Linked DNA regions of Homo sapiens: region 1 is linked to region 2. Evidence: promoter capture Hi-C in human tissues and cell types (Jung and others, 2019). All regions are on one chromosome and are shown on one strand. The core of a region is centred on a gene start or on the middle of the fragment in contact, and the rest is flanking DNA. Distances in the headings are between cores, read along the strand shown.

Evidence for each region. Contacts are between HindIII fragments. The study calls those that stand out against the background at their distance.
Region 1: a contact is called between a fragment that was not itself captured here and the fragment with the promoter of DCAF10 in region 2, in 2 of the 25 tissues and cell types used here (bladder and pancreas).

The regions. Positions count from the first base shown.
Region 1 is chr9:37,710,363-37,714,601 of GRCh38, forward strand. FRMPD1 (FERM and PDZ domain containing 1) reads left to right here. Exons shown (of 16, transcript NM_014907.3): 5 at 988-1,033. Among named protein-coding and RNA genes, the nearest start is that of TRMT10B, 41 kb to the right of the region's middle. The HindIII fragment of the contact is 9,572 bases long and covers 1-4,239 here.
Region 2 is chr9:37,798,636-37,802,777 of GRCh38, forward strand. It overlaps DCAF10 (DDB1 and CUL4 associated factor 10), which reads left to right and starts at 2,162. Exons shown (of 7, transcript NM_024345.5): 1 at 2,162-2,770. The coding sequence starts at 2,232. It overlaps LOC105376037 (a long non-coding RNA gene), which reads right to left and starts at 2,256. Exons shown (of 3, transcript XR_929599.3): 1 at 2,032-2,256; 2 at 1-93. RefSeq lists enhancers at 1,691-2,292, 3,244-3,293 and silencers at 2,134-2,653, 2,874-2,933. The HindIII fragment of the contact is 16,578 bases long and covers 1-4,142 here.

The DNA.
Region 1 (4,239 bases), core at 748-3,247, 88 kb before region 2:
CAAAGAGAAAGGAAAATATGATCGATTTTCTCTGTTCTGGCCGCTAATATAAAGTAGAGGTCAAGCAGTTATCTGCTTGATTTGATCACTTTTGAAATCTAAGAGATAATGCAAGACAAAGATGTCTACTATCTTGATTATATGATTGGGCTCATTACACCGACTTTGTGTGCCCAAACACCATAAACTCTTTGGCTTTTATCTGATAAACGTTATCCACAGACATTCATTCTGTTTAGTGAAATGTTTAGCCTGAGTTTTATGAAATAGCAACCTGAGTTATCTGTGTTATTGCCATATTTTCTCCTAAAAAATTTTTTTGGGTTGGGCACGGTGGCTCACACCTGTAATCCCAGCACTTTGGGAGGCCGAGGTGGGCAGATCACCAGGTCAGGAGTTTGAGACCAGCCTGACCAACATGGTGAAATCCCATCTCTACTAAAAAATTAGCTGGGTGTGGTGGCGGGTGCCTGTAGTCCCAGCTACTCGGGAGGCTGAGGCAGGAGAATTCTTTGAACCCGGGAGGCGGAGGTTGCAGCAAGCCAAGATTGCGCCATTGCATTCCAGCCTGGGCAACAGGGCAAGACTCTGTCTCACAAAAAAAAAAAAAAAAAAAAATTGGGGGACATAAATCTAGCTGGTTGTCACTGGATGAGTTCTTCATTGTATAGGACTAAATTAAGGCTAAGTGCCTTAATTAATGTTGTGGCTGTAGATATAGACTAGATGGTAGAGGTGAACTTACGAAAATTCCCTCCAGGTGGGAGGAGCTCTCTGGGTCAGCTTAAGTTCCTTTGCAGGTTGCTGCATTTCCCAATATCTTTCTCAGTTTTGCTGAGCCAAAAAAGCTAAGGCAAAGGAGGCTGCTTTATACTCATTCTGCCAGTCTTTTTGACCCTAACACACATGCTCACACATGTATGCATGCACGTGCATCCATCACGCAGAACGACTAAATGTTTTTGTCTTTATTCTTTCTTTTTTCAGGGAAGCAGAAGATTCTCTTTCAATCACAGTTGTTCGCTGCACGTCGGTAAATCTCTTTCTATGTCCTGTGTGTTAGTTTCACCATTCTTGGCCCTAAGACCCTGTTCCCCCAGAGGATATCCCTCATAAAGTAAGCGGGGAAGGCAAAGGGTGGAGGGTGACAGCTGCCCGGCAGTGGGTGGCCAGTCAGTCCATGTTATCTGAAGACCTCCTCCATGCAAGTACTGTGGAGGAAACAGATATGGTGAAGGCCTCAAGAATTTATGGTCCAGCTGAGGAGATGGACCTATGGCTATGCACAGTAGGATGATGGTAAGGGCACCAAACTGGAGTTTCAAGACAGGTTTGAGTGGTATGACTTTGGGAAAATCATTTAGTTTCAGTTTTCACTTTTGTAAAATAGTCATGACAATAACTGCCTTGTCTGTTTAATGGGTTGTTAGAAGGACCAAATGAGATGTTGGATATGAAAGTATTTTATCAGCTCTGAGGCTCACCACACGGCAAGGTGTGGCATAGATGATGCACAGGGAGGAAGCGGCAATCCTAAACCACCACAGGCCGAGGAGCTCCTTATGTATTATTTAGGGAAAGTATATAATCAAATTTTCAAAGGAAAAACTACTAAGGAGATAGTTTTTCAAAAGTTGATAGAAAATTTTCATTGTGAGAAATTTTAATAGTACTTCTTAGCCTTGGCCACAAATAGACCAAAATAAAAAAGAGGGGCATAGAGAATTTGAATAATGTACTTAATAATCTAATTTAATTGACCACATACCAGGCTACCAAGAAAACTCAATAAATTCCCCAAATGAAAAACTGTGCAGGTCCCTTTTTCCGAATATAATAAAATAGAAGCTAATAACTATTAAAAATTCAATTAAAAACCATTCAGCCATTTGGAAATAAAAATGTAATTTCCTAAGTAAAGATTGAGTCAAATAGAAAAAGAAAAACTATCATTATAGACTATTTAGAAAATAATTGAAAATTAAAACTGTACTTCTTTTATTTTTTCTTGAGATGGAGTCTCACTCCCGTCGTGCAGACTGGAGTGCAATGGCGTGATCTCAGTTCACTGCAACCGCCACCTCCTGGGTTCAAGTGATTCTCCTGCCTCAACTTCCCAAGTAGCTGGGATTACAAGCACCCACCACCATGCTGAGCTAATTTTTGTATTTTTAGTAGAGACAGGGTTTCGCCACATTGGCCAGGCTGGTCTTGAACTCCTGACCTCAGGTGATCCACCTGCCTCGGCTTCCCAAAGTGCTGGGATTACAGGCGTCATCCACCATGCCAGGCCAGAACTGTACTTCTTAAAAGTAATTATGTGCAGTTGAAGCTACACTCAGAGTAAAATTCATGGCCTTGAGTGTTTTTATCATTTAATACAGAAGTAAATCAATTAAATATTCAGTGCAAGAAGTTAGAAGAAAAGATTAATAAAACAAACATAAAGCAGAATAAAGTAATAAAAATTAAAATATAAATGATCCTCTGGAAAACAGAAAGATTGTAATGTTGTTAAGTCCAAAAGCTATTTCTTTAAAGACAAAAGTTATATAAAATACAAAAACCTTAAGGGAAAGAGATATGGGAGTCTCATGTGGAGGAAACTAGACTATTACTGACATATATAAAAAAATAACATAAAAGGAGATACATACTATGTTCCTTGATGGGGAGACTAAGTATTATTAATATATCAGTTATTATATTAATATATATACTTAATACAAATTCAAGCAAACTCTTACGGGACTTTCATTTGGATTTAACAAAGTATATCAAAGTGAGACTTATCTCAAGAAAACCTTTTTTAAAAAGGATAATGAGGATGGCCTTGATAGGCAGGTTTAAAAACGAACAAAGCTACAATTATTAAAACAGTATGATATTGGTGAAATGTTGAACATGTCAATGTAATCAGATAAAAAGTTCAAGAGTAGATGCTAGTATAGGAACATAGTATGTGAGGCTGGGTGCAGTGGCTCATGCCTGTAATCCCAGCATTTTGGGAGGCTGAGGGTGGCGGATAGCTTGAGCTGAGGAGTTCAAGACCAGCCTGGGCAACATGGCAAAATCCCATCTCTACAAACACAAAAACAAAAACAAAATGATTATAGCTGGCAGGGGCTTAGGTGAGAGAATCGCTTGAGCCCAGGAAGTCGAGGCTGCAGTGAGCTGAGATCGCACCACTGCACTCCAGCCTGGGTGACAAGGTGAGACCGTATATATATATATATGTAGAGAGAGAGAGAGAGACCATATATATAGAGAGACCTATATATATATGACCATTTATATATAACTATATATAGTGTGTGTGTGTATATATATGTATATAGTTTGTGAAAAACATAGCATTCCAAATCTGTGGGAGAAAAGGCAATTATTCAAGAAATCAAACTTGGACATTTGTTTAAGTATTTGGAAAAAATACAGTCTCAACTCTAAAAATACAAACAATATGGATGGATGTCTGTCTGGTCATAGGCTGTAGAAAGGTTGCCTACGCATTTAGGGCGTGGAAGGAAGCACAGTGGAACAAAGGTGATTTGATTACATGAAAATATAAACCTTCTGTGGTCCAAACACTTCATAAACTAGAAAGCAGAGAAAGTGTTGTCTCCTCTCTGTATTTGACAAATGTTATCTTTTGTTTTTATTTCTTGGAAATAGAGTAGGAAAAAACCTACCTAATGAGGATGAAGATGTTTGCCATAAATATGTCAGACCAAGTATTTTAGGTATCGATAAATGGAAGTTCTTCTATTCTTAACAGAATTTGTCTATTAAATAATGTGAAACCAATATGGAAACAGGGAAATCTAATCAGTATAAATGGTAGTGAAGGTGTTAGGTCCTTTTTGTTTAGCTGGTTATCATCTCATTGGAGAGTATCTTAATCTTAATCAGGCAGGTTTTTTCCTGATCTGTTTCCAAGAAATGAGCAAAAGAAAATACTTAATGTAGGGAGCAAGGGCAACAGCATAGAGCTGAATCCTTTAAATAATAAAAAGTATGGGAAGGTAAAAATTGGTATGTGTCCAGTACCACTCCTGAGATTCCTACAAGATTTCCAGGAAGAGAGGAACGTGCTCTGGAGGTCTCTCAGGGAGAACTGGCATTAGCCCAGTCTGTGGCCACCAGTGCCTCTGAGAAATGCCCTAAATATTGGCTAGCCTGCTCCTGGGCCTCTCACCAGAACTGCTCCGAAGAAGTTTATTTTATTTTATTTTATTTTAT
Region 2 (4,142 bases), core at 912-3,411:
AAAGATCTTCCTGCTGCTTGAGCTTGGGAGGTTGAGGCTGCAGTGAGCCATGACTGTATTACTGTACTCCATCCTGGTCAACAGAGTGAGACCCTGAAAAAAAAAAAAAAGATCCTCCTACCTTGGCCTCCCAAAGCACTGAGATTACAGGTGTGAGCCACTGTGTCTGGCCCTTGATTCTTTTTGTCAGTGCATAAGTCCTGGTTCAGGTATTGTGAAATCAAGTGATCATCCCACAGGAAACTGAAACTGAAATTGAGCAGCCATCATTCTGGTACCTCAAGGGACTCTGCAGGAAGACCCTAGGGGGACTCTGCCAAGAACAAGTCTAACCTGTTCTGAGTCTGTCTCTTTTTATGTATCTGTATCTCCTCCTACCATCAACTTTCTTTCTCACCGTCTATCCCAAGTCTGTTCTCTCATGGCTGCTGCTTTCTCATGATTTCTCTTACTCCTTTGGTTTGCTCAGGACTCCAGCGGCCTCACTCTGCCTTATGACTTTTCAATCCCAACCATCATGGCCAACTGCCTCACTTCTGATTTCCCAATTCAAATTCCCAAGAGCATGAGTCTGTATGGGCAAAGACTTTTGGTCTGGCAGCCTCATGGACCAGTGGCTAATCTATAGCCTGGTTACTCAAATAGTTGTCCTACCCCGGCTAGTAGGCAAGGAAAGCTAAGTAACAGCTACAAAATTCGACAGCCTAGGACTTCTAGGATGGGTTCAGTAGAATATACGTGCTGGCATACACATGAAGAGTGTGAATGCCAGGCAAGTAGGCTGCTACAGTAGATTGGACCCATCCAGGGGGTCTCCAGAGAAGTAGAACCAATAGGAGATATAGATATAAGAGAACATTTAATATGGGAATTGGTTCATATCATTGTAGAGGAGTCCCATGATCTGCAGTCTGCAAGCTGGAGAACCAGGAAATCTGGTGGTGTAATTCAGTCTGAGTCTGAAGGTGTGAGAATCAGAGGAGCTAATGGTATAACTCCCGGTCCAAGACTGAAGGCCTGAAAACTGACGATGAGTCCCCAAGTCCAAAGCCCGCAGAACCGAGTTTTGATGTCTAAGGGCAGGAGATGGATGTACCAACTTAAGAGAAAGTTAAATCACCCTTCTGCCTTTTTGTTCCTTTTCAGTCTTTAATGAATAGGATGATGCCTGTCCACAATGGTGAGGGCAGATCTTCTATTGATTCAAATGCTAATCTGTCCTGGAAACACCCTCACAGGCACACACAGAAATAATGGTTTTCCAGGCTATCTGGGCATCTGTTAGCCCAGTCAAGTTGACCCAGAAAAGTAACTATCACCTATTTGCCATCTTTCATTTAAGCCCAGATACACAGACTGGCTATCTCAGCCATTCCTTGGGTAGCACATCCAAACCTGTTTCCTCTCAGTCTCTCCTTTGCCTTGTGACAAATAGGTTTTGGAAGAAGCTGCCTGTGGTCACCCTGAACTTGTTGTGCCTTTAAGAGTTGGGCATGCTGGCCAGGCGCGGTGGCTCATGCCTGTAATCCCAGCACTTCGGGAGGCCGAGGCGGGTGGATCACGAGGTTCAAGACCAGCCAGGCCAAGATGGTGAAACCCTATCTCTACTAAAAAATACAAAAAATTAGCCGGGCGTGGTGGTGGGCGCCTGTAATCCCAGCTGCTCGGGAGGCTGGGGCAGAGAATTGCTTGAACCCGGGAGACGGAGGTTGCAGTGAGCCGAGATCGCGCCACTGCACTCCAGCCTGGGCGACAGCGCGAGACTCCATCTCGGAAAAAAAAAAAAAAAAAAAGAGTGGCATGTCACCTATTGTGTGTGGCCTGCACGTAATGCACTAATTCTTAATCCCTCGCTGATCCCAGTGTAAAGTGGAGACACCAGTACATACTCAGCCTCACAGGACTGACTGGTCAGGCCACTCATCCCCAGGCACGCGGCCACCGGTCACTGACAACTACAGACCGACTCTGCCACCCAGATCAGGTGCCCAGATGCTCAGTCGCTCACACAGGTAACTACTCGCTCCCTACCTCCGTTCCCGGGACTGCGGCGCCCCAAACCCGGCGGTGTCTCAGCTTTCCCGGTCCCCGGCGGACGGTGGCCGAGGGGCGGCGCGGGTTTCCAGCCGGTGGGGTTAGGCCGCTGCACGCCGGAAGTGGCAGCTGAACAGGGGCACTGAGGTGTCGGCCGGCGGGGCAGTGGCCCGGAGCGGGGGGCGGGGGCGTTGATCATGTTTCCCTTTGGGCCCCATAGCCCTGGAGGGGACGGATCGGCCGGAGCCGGGGCTGAGGAGCCGACGCCCCACGAGGGGCAGGCAGCAGCCACCGGGCCGCCCTCGCCACTACATCCCGGGGCTGATGCGACCCATCCCCCTCCACCCGCCCGAAGCCCTCGCCGCCCCGGCGCCCCATCGCTGTCCCCGGCCCCGCGCTCCGGAGAGCTAGGGCTGCCTGGAGCTCCGGAGTCCTCAACTGCCTCCGCCCCGGGAGAGCCGTCACCTCCCTCCCCTCCGTGCCGGCGGCCCGGGCCAGACTGCAGGGCCAAGAGCCGGGGCCGACACGGCCTCGGCGCGGGCCTGGGCGGCCCTGGCGCTAGGCTGTTCGGGTGGCTGAAAGAGCGCAGCCTGGGCCGCGGGCTGTTCGTGGACCCGGCGCGGGACAATTTTCGCACCATGACTAGCCTCTACGGTTCCATCCACCCCGCGGACTCGGTGTACCTCAGCACCCGCACCCACGGCGCCGTCTTCAACCTCGAGTACTCGCCCGACGGGTAAGCGCGGCCCCTCGGAGGGCGGGCGCCCGCCTCCGCCCGGCTCTGCTGCCAGCGGACGGCCGTCCTGGGCTCGCTCCCCGCGCCCGGGCCGAGGTTAGCGAGGCCGTTTGGGGCCGCTGGCCTTCGTGCCTCCTGGCACTTTCTGAAGCGCATTCTCGCCCTTGGAATCCCCAGCCCAGCTTTTTGAGGCAGGCAGGCGGGGCCCCACTTGCTCGCCTTCAGGACTTGGGCTCTGTGAAGGAGAAATGCCCGAAGCTACACAGCGGACCTGTCAGAGCCAGCCCACAACTAGGGCTTTCTGGTACACAGTAGGTGCTCAGTAAATACATTTTGAATAAATGCCCGCTTTCTCCCCATCATCCTAGGCTCGCGTTTTCCTACCTAAACCTGTGTCGGGGTAGGAAAGCTGTAGATTCCTTGCACTCTGTACCTGAACTTGCCATGATGGGGCAAGTGCGTTCCTTTGCTCAAGGAAGATACAGTACTAAGACACTGTAGAGACGTGGCTCTCATGATTTGGGTCATTTGTGAAGTCCCCAGGCTAGACTACAGCCTTTTTCTTGGCTGATTAAATATTTATTGTATGGCTTTGCTTTAAAGGGAACTTTCCAAAATCGTATCTATTTAAAACTTTGTCTTGTCAGTACACAAGTCCGCCATCAAAAGAAAAAATGTGCACAGTTCCACCATGAGGTGACATAGTTAATGTAATTCTTACCCCACCAAGCCTCTCGGTTGCTAGTTGTTTACTCAGTTGTTCATTCATTCATTCTCTCATTCGGCGTATATTTGTTGAGCACTTGCTATGTTCCAAATGCAGGAGTAACCATGCTGAGCAAAACCAGCTAATGGCACTGTTTTCATTGAGCCTGGGACTTAATGGTTCAACTAGATAGTAGATAGCCTTACTAAATAATGCATAAAATATATTTGTTAATTGAGATAAAGTCTTGAAGGAATCTGTTATGGACACTGTGTTCACGGATTCCCTGAGGAAGTGGCACCTAAATGAAAATAAAAATGAGTACGAAATAAATTAGTCAAGATAGGGTTGGGAAAGGGATAGAAGTATTTCAGATGGAGATGATTGGTATGTCAAAGGTCGTAGAAGGGCAGCATATCATGTTACAGGAGGTGAAAAAAAATAGGTTTACAAAGCAAAAAATTTTACTGAAGAAAGACCTGAAGTTGCTAAGGAAGGAGCAAAGGAATAGAAACAGGAGTTACTGTGAGCAAGTAGACTCTATTCCATTTCAATGATGGAAGCGCTTCCTAATCACACGTGGTGCTGGGGTCTCTGGGGTCTCAACAGCAATTGGTTGGAGCATGTAGCAGTGGATGCACACCTGAATAAGGTGGAAAACTGGTG